Regions from separate parts of the Homo sapiens genome. Here all the other regions are linked to region 3. Evidence: promoter capture Hi-C in 16 types of primary human blood cells and fetal thymus (Javierre and others, 2016). All regions are on one chromosome and are shown on one strand. Each heading gives the region's core, a stretch centred on a gene start or on the middle of the fragment in contact. The rest is flanking DNA. Distances are from core to core; before and after follow the strand shown. Region 1 overlaps MAP2K5 (mitogen-activated protein kinase kinase 5). Region 2 overlaps MAP2K5 (mitogen-activated protein kinase kinase 5). Region 3 holds the start of MAP2K5 (mitogen-activated protein kinase kinase 5).

Region 1 (2,700 bases), core at 60-2,559, 250 kb before region 3:
CTGACAGCTGCAGTAGAGAATTAAAGGCTGCTCTCCACATCTTAAAGACCCTCACCACTCAGTAAGCAGCCCCTCCTCTGAGCCTCAGCCCTAAAGACCCAACTTGCTCCCCATTTAAAACAAGAATGAGCAGACTTCTGGGTTTAGAATTCCATGTAACTAAACCACAAAATAGAAAAAAGGAATCCCAACTGTTGCACTTGTGCACAGCCTACAGACAAGACGGCAGTGCCCTCAGACAGCATTTCAAATACAGTTTATTAGTGTGTGATATGAAAAGGGTATTTTTATTGCATGATATAATGCAATGGGACCTTGGGCGCTCTGTGGAAAGACCTCACACTCAGAAGTGTAATGAACCCGTAGTCCCAAAAACATTATACTGTACATTAACCTATCATTAATGGCACATTAGGGCTAGGGGCATTGCACGCTTGCTGGTCAGGGCTCCATCAGGACAGTGTTGAGAAAACCACACAGTCTTCCCAGGCTTAAAACAAATAGAAAAAATAAATATTCCTGATGTCTACAGGCTGCTTTAAAGGAAGTTCAATCCAGCTCTGCCTTGCAATTTCCAAGCCTGCTTTTTTAAGAGTGGAAGAAAGATACACAACCAAACAAAGGGAAAAGAAAACGACTCTCTTGTAGTTTACCCCCAGCTATTGGCTATTCAACCTCAATGTTGCTTGACAAGGTCATGAGCAAATAGCACCTTGGTAGTGTAAAAGCTGCCCAAAGGACACTCGGGCCTGGACCACAGACTGCAGAAGTGGGATGGGGCCTTGGAAATTGTGTCCACCCCCTTCACTGTCTAGATGGAAAAATCAATCTTCAACAAGATGAAGGAAGAGACAACACATTCAACAGAAAAACAGGCAAAGAATGTGAAAAAAAAAATGTGACCAACAAACATATGAAAGAAGTGTTAATCCTCATACTTAATAAAATAAACATAAATTAAAATGATTAGATCCTTTTTTTTTTTTGAAACAGAGTTTTGCTCTTGTTGCTCAGGCTGGAGTGCAATGGTGCGATCTCGGCTCACTGCAACCTCCACCTCCCCGGGTTCAAGCAATTCTCCTGCCTCAGTCTCCAGAGTAGCTGGAATTACAGGGTCCCCCCACCACACCCAGCTAATTTTTGTATTTTTAGTAGAGACAGTGTTTCACCATGTTGGCCAGGCTGGTCTCGAACTCCTGACCTCAGGTGATCCACCTGGCCTCCCAAAGTGCTGGGATTACAGGCGTTAAGCCGCCACGCCTGGCCAACTAGATACCATTTTGCCACTGATTAGGTTGGCAAAGATTAAAATCTGATAATTTAGTATCAGAAGAGATGAAGAAGAAGAGCTAACATTCTCATATCCAGTATACAAAGATGTATACATAGAGACACAGTCACTGTCTTAATAACAAAAAAATATGGAAATGGTCAAAATATCCTATGACAGGGTCCTGGATAAATAAATATGATACATCCATAGTATGGAATACTATACAGCCATTAAGAATAAGGTTGATCTTTATATTATATGGAAAGACCTCAATGACTCACTAAGTAAAAAAGCAAGGTGCAGAATAAAAAGAATTAAAAATTCTAGAAGGATACCCAAGCTACTATTAACAATGCTTATCTCTAGAGATTAGGGCTGGAAGATATGGAGGATTGGAAGGAGACTAACTTCTTACTGTATATCCTTCTGTACTGTGTAATTTTTTTTTTTTTTTTTTGAGACAGGGTCTCTCTCTGTCACCCATGCTGGAGTGCAATGGTACAATCATGGCTCACTGCATCCTCTACCTCATGGGCTCAAGTGATCCTCTCACCTCAGCATCCTGAGAAGCTGGGACTACAGGCAGTGCCACCATGTCCAACTAGTTTTTAAGTTTTTGTAGAGACAGGGTCTCACTATGTTGCCCAGGCGGGTCTCGAACTCCTGGGCGAAAGTGATCCTCCTGCCTCAGCCCCCCAAGAGCTAGAATTAAGCATGATCCACCATGTCTGGCCAAATTTTTAATCATAATTTAAAAACTAGTTTTAGCAAATAAATATGGATGATGGCAGGAATAAACATTGCTTATGAACCTATTATTTTCCAACTACTATATTAAGTGCTTATGTGCTTCACCTTATTTGCCTTTTTACAAAAACAGTAACAGTAAATTGGTCACTATTATCCCCTTTCCATGCAGTGGGTACTAAAGTTTCCAGGGGTGAAGTAACTTGCTCAAGGTGACTCTCTTACCCATCTACCTTCAATAATGAAGCAGAGTATTTATAAAATAGAGAAATACTTTCCAAACTTAAGACAGCCTGAGGCTACCTTCCTGGGGACAGCCTGTATAACCCAGCAGTGATACAAGGAGGTGAGTGGAAGGCAGGACAAAAGGCTGCTGACTGGCTGAGGCCAAATCAAATTTCTGGAAACATCTTATCTCCATATAAAAAAAAGGGGAGAAGGCCTGGGGGCCCCAGAGCTATACATTGTTTAAGTAAATAATGCTTGCAACCAGGGACTCAAATATATAAAGCAAAGTAGTTCCCTAATTACATATAAATCAACATCAAAGGCAACACACTTGCAGGTCCATGAAGAGGAAGCTGCCTCAGACCAGCAGAATTTCAAGGTGAGATCAGGGGCTGAGAAGTATCCAGAACAGTCTCCACACCTTAGGACGGTGCTGTGCCAACAAAGTTTAC
Region 2 (2,700 bases), core at 168-2,667, 230 kb before region 3:
CTTCCAAATGTCAAAATTCATTGAAATGGTACCCCAGTATTGTATTTAAAATACAACCAAAGATAAAAGTTATTTACTGAAAATCCGATGAATTAATAAACTATGCTGCTTCCACTAAGTGACAAGACAGTTTTATGGGTAACTTGAGGTTACATTAATAAAAATAAGCTTCGTACGTCCGTTCAGTAGGGGCTATAAAATTGTGTATTTCTTTTTTTAAAAAAGGATGGCAACAGTATTTGTGCTTAAAGAAGTATCATGACTTTCAGCAGTTTATTAAATCAGGAAAAAGGCTCTGAAGTATGCTTATGACCCTTTGTGTAAATAACGTTTACATAATTTAAACAATTTCTTCAGCTTTGCTGCCCCATCTGCCCAAGGCCCCGAAGTCCCTCCTGTCTCCAAAAGGATGCAGGGAGAGCCATAAGGTCTCACGGAGCTGCCGAGTTAATGGCATGTATCATTTACATTGAGGGCATGGCATGTTTGTAAACGGGCTCACCACTGAGTGATGAAATGTACAAATGGCTCCGAGAACTCTCCAACTGGAAGGACGGGCGAATCCTGTGATGGAGGAAAAACATGTCACCAAAAGTCACAACAGTTCCTTCTCTTTCTTTATATTCCCCACCCACCCATGTGAAGGATGAGTATAAAGATGAATACAATGAGAATAAGGCCTCACCCAATTAAAAAGACTGTCTTTACCTTATTCCACACATTTAGGTAAAGATGCCAAATTTAAAGCCACACATATTTTACAATGGTGAGAAACATGAGAGCTGAGAGAGGGGGAGGTGAAAAAAGGACAATGATAGCCACAGGGTAGGAGAGAAGGTAGGGAAAGTGTAAATGAGAAATTAATGATTATTTAAGTAACACACAAATGGTCTTGTAATTAACAAAGAGCTGTGAAATTATTCTTGTGTTGACCTTTGTTTCTTTTACTGGATTTGCTATTTATTTACACTTTCCTTTTTATTTACATTTATTTGTATATTCAACTGCTCTTTACTGTTTGCCCCTAACAGAATAATTTGGATCAATTTTTTTTTTTTACTTTAATAGAAAGGCTTTTATAGGGGAAGTTGTTTCCTGAAAAGGAATTTCAGCCTATTTGCCAGTCTAGGCAGACTCCTCATATGAGAAAGCCAGTGAATTAAGGATACAATGAAAAACTCCCAACTTGACCACCAACCAAAACTAGGATGGAGGTGGGAGTCAGTCAAAAAAGCAGAAAACTACACAGCAACAAACAACCACCACCACATAATACAAAGAGCAAACCCCATTACCGTTTGCAAAGGAAGGCTTTAAGAATTTAGGAGTTTTTCCAAGAATGACAGAGAGCGCCACTGTGTTTATAGTGTAACAGCTCAGGATGTAATAAAATTACACTGCAGAGTACTTTAACAGTCATCTCATTAGACCTACAGTTGGAACAAGAGAGCCACATAAAGTAGGCAGCTGCAAATGACTCCATTCTCATCTATTCTCATTTGCTATTAAAAATACCTTTCGGCGGCTTTTTTCCTCCCTGACATCCCTACACAAAGTGCCCTGCAAAGTATGATACATGCACCTATTTAAATTAACAAAGGAATGACTTATTTTAATCTCACTGTGCTTTGGAGTGCTTTGGCCATTTGGATGAGCAATATATCATTACATACAACCTTCCAGCGCTGCAGGCAAGAAACTCAGAGCATGCAGCATTTGGTGGGAGCCAAACAATTTCTCTAGCACACAACTGTGTCAAATGCATGCATGTATTCATTATTGAGAACGAGAGGAAATAGCTTTGATGTAGTGGAAAAAAGAAGATGATAAAAGCACCTCTGCAATATGCGTGTCATTATCAATGGTGGCAGATAGATACAATTGCACAGCCTCCTATGTGATTAGTAAATATACATATAATTGCTGTGGCCAATTATCAGAAAAATGAGATCGGTAATTACAAGACAGAAAATTAACTAGAACTCTTATTAAGGCTTTGTTTCCAATTCAAACAATTGGAAAGTGCTGGAAAATACAATTAAATCAAAAGGAACTAAGGGGGTCAAGGCAGCCAAAAAACAAACAAAAACAACAAAAAACAGACAACAAAAAACACCGAAGAGGCTACAAGAAAAGAAACATGAACAAAATGTTTCTTGGTTTTTGCATATCTGTCCTCTTTAAATTTAATCTATTCATCCAGAAGAAGGGATGGTTAGCAATTCTAAAATTAAAATTCTCATCAGTAGAGAAGGGTTAAGAGGAAAAGAAAACAAAGGAAAAATGGGAGTGAAATAAAATCTTGCCAAGTTCAAAGGATTACACGCAGGCATTACACAGAGACGACATGAAAAACGGAGGTGGATGGGTGGCTGATCAAACAGTCCACTCAAAAGAAACAAGACACAAAATAGCATGACAAGTCCTCAATAAAGGTATATAAAATGGCCACAGAAGTCCCATCGGTTTGAAGAGCAAAAATAAAACATGATATCAATTTCAGCTGCAGCCTGTTTTAGGAAAGCCATATATATCACCAAGCCTGTAAGATTCTACAAGGCCCAGTTCAAGAAATGACATTTTACTGTCTCAAAAACCATTAGTAAAAAGATAGTTCAAAGTCTGAGGTGTAAAAATGATGGACTCTGATCAGTGAGGAAGCTTCTCTAAGTCATCGCTTCATGGATTTTTTTTGAGGGT
Region 3 (2,700 bases), core at 175-2,674:
GGAGTTCAAGACCAGCCTGGGCAACATGGCAATACCTCGTCTCTACAAGATACAAAAATTATCCAGGTGTGATGGCATGTGCCAGCTACTTGGGAGGCTGAGGTAGGAGAATCGCTTGAGCCCAGGAGGCAGAGGCTGCAGTGAGCCGAGATCGTGCCACAGCACTGCAGCCTGAGCGACAGAGTGAGGCCCTGTCTCAAAATAAATTAATGAAACAGTGTGCTCAAACATGGTAAGTTAAAGTTGTCCTTTTTCCCTTTCTCAGCTGGTCACCAAGTTCAGAGAACTCAGTAGAAAAACAAGGCTGGAATCTGTCCAAGGACATTCCCCGAAACACTTGGGGGGAAAAAACCTCTCTTCTAGATTCAGCAGTTTGCATTTGCGTGGTTGTGTCTATATGTGTGTCCCAGCCCGGGCCATGAGCTCTCTGAGGGCAGGGGTTCAGTCAGATTGATCTATCTCCCCAGGGTCCTAGACATTTGCCAGGTTTTAGTGGTTGCAATTTATCAATGCTGTGCCTGAAGCAATAAAACTGCCTCCACAGGAAGCCAGCAGTAGCCATTGCCACTGGCTCAGGTCACCAGTGGTCAAGGTGCTGACTACTCAAGTCCCTGAGTCCCCCTTGCTGGCATCCGGACACTGAGATTACCACTCACCAGCACATCCCTGAAGAGTAACTGCGGCCCGGAGTGCACTGTCCAGTCCACCGCGCCACTATTTGGGATCTTGATGCGAATTACCAGCACCTGGTTCTCCATGGCAGGAAAGGGGCCAAGGGCTAGCCACAGCATTACAGGTTAAAGAGGCTCACATCCTGGGGTATGGGAAACCCACTGGCCGCTGGTTAGGAGGGGGCTCCAAGAGGTGACAAGGGGAGTGACGGGCAGAGGACAGAGGGTGAAAACAAGGGAATGGAGGATGAGGGGGAGGGAAGAGGGGAGGGGTGATCAGGAACGCACCCGCAGGCACCGAGCCTGCCCAGGCTGTCGGGGGTCTGAGGTGTCTCCCGGGGAGGGTGCACCGGGAAGCGGGCAAAGGCCCGCAGGAACTAGCGGAGGTCGGAAGGTTCTGGAGTTGAGCGAACGCTATGGTGAAGGTCTCTGCCGCCGTGTGGGTATGAGGAGGCAGCAGGGCAAGGACTCGGTTTGGGGGAGATACAGCGGCAGGTGTCCACCGCTCGTCAGTGGACTAGGAGAGGGTCCTCGACTGGAGGGGACTCAGTCCGGGGCTATTAAGAAAGAGCCCCAGGGCCGCCACACCACGGAGAGTCCCCGCGGGAGGTTCAAGGGGCGAGTCTTCTGCCCCACCCGGAGACACAGGGCGCGGCGCGCGCAGGCTGAGCTCCGGCCACCCGAGGCCGCGCGGACTGGCGGCGGCTGCGGCGGCGGCGACGGCGGTAGCGGCGAGAGGAGGAGGAGGAAGGCGGCGGCGACACTGTTACTCCGGAACCAAAACGCGCGGCGCCGGAACCCCGGGAGCCGACGAGCGGGACCCGCCTCCCGCGGCGCCATGTTGGAAAAGGGCAGCAGCTCCCGGGAGGATGCGCCCCCGGCGTGGGAAGCCGAGGAACCGGCGCGCGGCGCGCGGCGCGTGGCGCGTGGCGAGTCGGGGAGAGACTGGTCTTGCTCGCTCAGGAGACCCTCATCGCCCACAGAGCGCCCGCGGCGACCCGGTCACGGCCCTTCCATTTCCTGACCCTGCTTAATGACAGCGAGGTGAAAACATCTACCAAACGAAGGGTAAAAGGCTGGAGTCCGCCAAAAGCCAATTTAAGGCTTAACATTGCAGACCGTTTGTCTTTACAAAAGCTTCAAAGACGGGGCTGCAGCTCCCGGTTATCCCCACTTTGTCAAGCCATGAATCTGAATGTTCGTGGGGTTGTGTGCATCGAATCAGCAAGAGCAAGGCAAGAATTCAAGAAATAGTTCTTTTTTATCCCCCCTTCCAAGTCACAGGTTCAGAGGATCATCATCTTTCTCCCACATTAGCAAAACATATTTGCATTTTTCAGTGAAGTTCTTTACCGCACGAGTGCCCTAAAATAGCAAACAGTTCCCTGTTCAAAAGCAATAGTAAAGAAATTCGCCGAAGAGTTTAATTGCCTGGGGACAGCTGCAGTAGTCGCATCATCGTCTCTTATTAAACTGTTGCAGAAATATTCGGTCTAGTCCATGTATTTTCAACTAAATAGCACTGCTTACGCAGTTGGTGATATGGTGATATCACGGAAGTAGCAATAAACCTTGGTTATCTTTTTTTTTTTTTTTTTTGAGACGGAGTCTCGCTCCGTCGCCCAGGCTGGAGTGCAACGGCGCGACCTCTACTCACCACAACCTCAGCCTCCCGGATTCAAGCGATTCTCCTGCCTCAGCACTACCACCCCCACCAGCCCCCAACCCCTGCCGAGTAACTGGGACTACAGGCGTGCGCCATCCGTGCCCGCTCATTTTTGTATTTTCAGTAGAGACTGGGTTTCACTATGTTGGCCAGGCTGGTCTCAAACTCCTGACCTCGTGATCCGCCCACCTCAGCCTCCCAAAGTGCTGGGGGGATTACAGGTGTGAGCCACCGCGCCCGGCCAACCTTGGTTATCTTCAAATGCCTTGTTACCTCAGATTTTAAAGTGCATAAGGTTGTAGAACGATGGTGCCTCTACAGAAGTTTCTTTACAAATTGTAATGTGTAGGTTCGTCCTTTATT

The links. Contacts are between HindIII fragments. The CHiCAGO score rates a contact against its expected background, and 5 or more counts as called.
Region 1: a contact is called between a fragment that was not itself captured here and the fragment with the promoter of MAP2K5 in region 3, in 2 of 17 cell types (M2 macrophages and fetal thymus). The highest score is 5.3, in M2 macrophages.
Region 2: a contact is called between a fragment that was not itself captured here and the fragment with the promoter of MAP2K5 in region 3, in 3 of 17 cell types (activated CD4 T cells, fetal thymus and total B cells). The highest score is 5.4, in activated CD4 T cells.

The regions. Positions count from the first base shown.
Region 1 is chr15:67,788,002-67,790,701 of GRCh38, reverse strand. The region is part of intron 21 of MAP2K5 (mitogen-activated protein kinase kinase 5); the gene reads right to left. Among named protein-coding and RNA genes, the nearest start is that of SKOR1, 36 kb to the left of the region's middle. The HindIII fragment of the contact is 3,625 bases long and covers 1-2,700 here.
Region 2 is chr15:67,767,466-67,770,165 of GRCh38, reverse strand. MAP2K5 (mitogen-activated protein kinase kinase 5) reads right to left here. Exons shown (of 22, transcript NM_145160.3): 20 at 503-564. Among named protein-coding and RNA genes, the nearest start is that of SKOR1, 57 kb to the left of the region's middle. The HindIII fragment of the contact is 2,493 bases long and covers 171-2,663 here.
Region 3 is chr15:67,541,427-67,544,126 of GRCh38, reverse strand. It overlaps MAP2K5 (mitogen-activated protein kinase kinase 5), which reads right to left and starts at 1,424. Exons shown (of 22, transcript NM_145160.3): 1 at 657-1,424. The coding sequence starts at 791. It overlaps MAP2K5-DT (MAP2K5 divergent transcript), which reads left to right and starts at 1,497. Exons shown (of 1, transcript NR_186334.1): 1 at 1,497-2,700. RefSeq lists a silencer at 1,289-1,408 and enhancers at 2,282-2,331, 1,984-2,484. The HindIII fragment of the contact is 6,106 bases long and covers 1-1,810 here.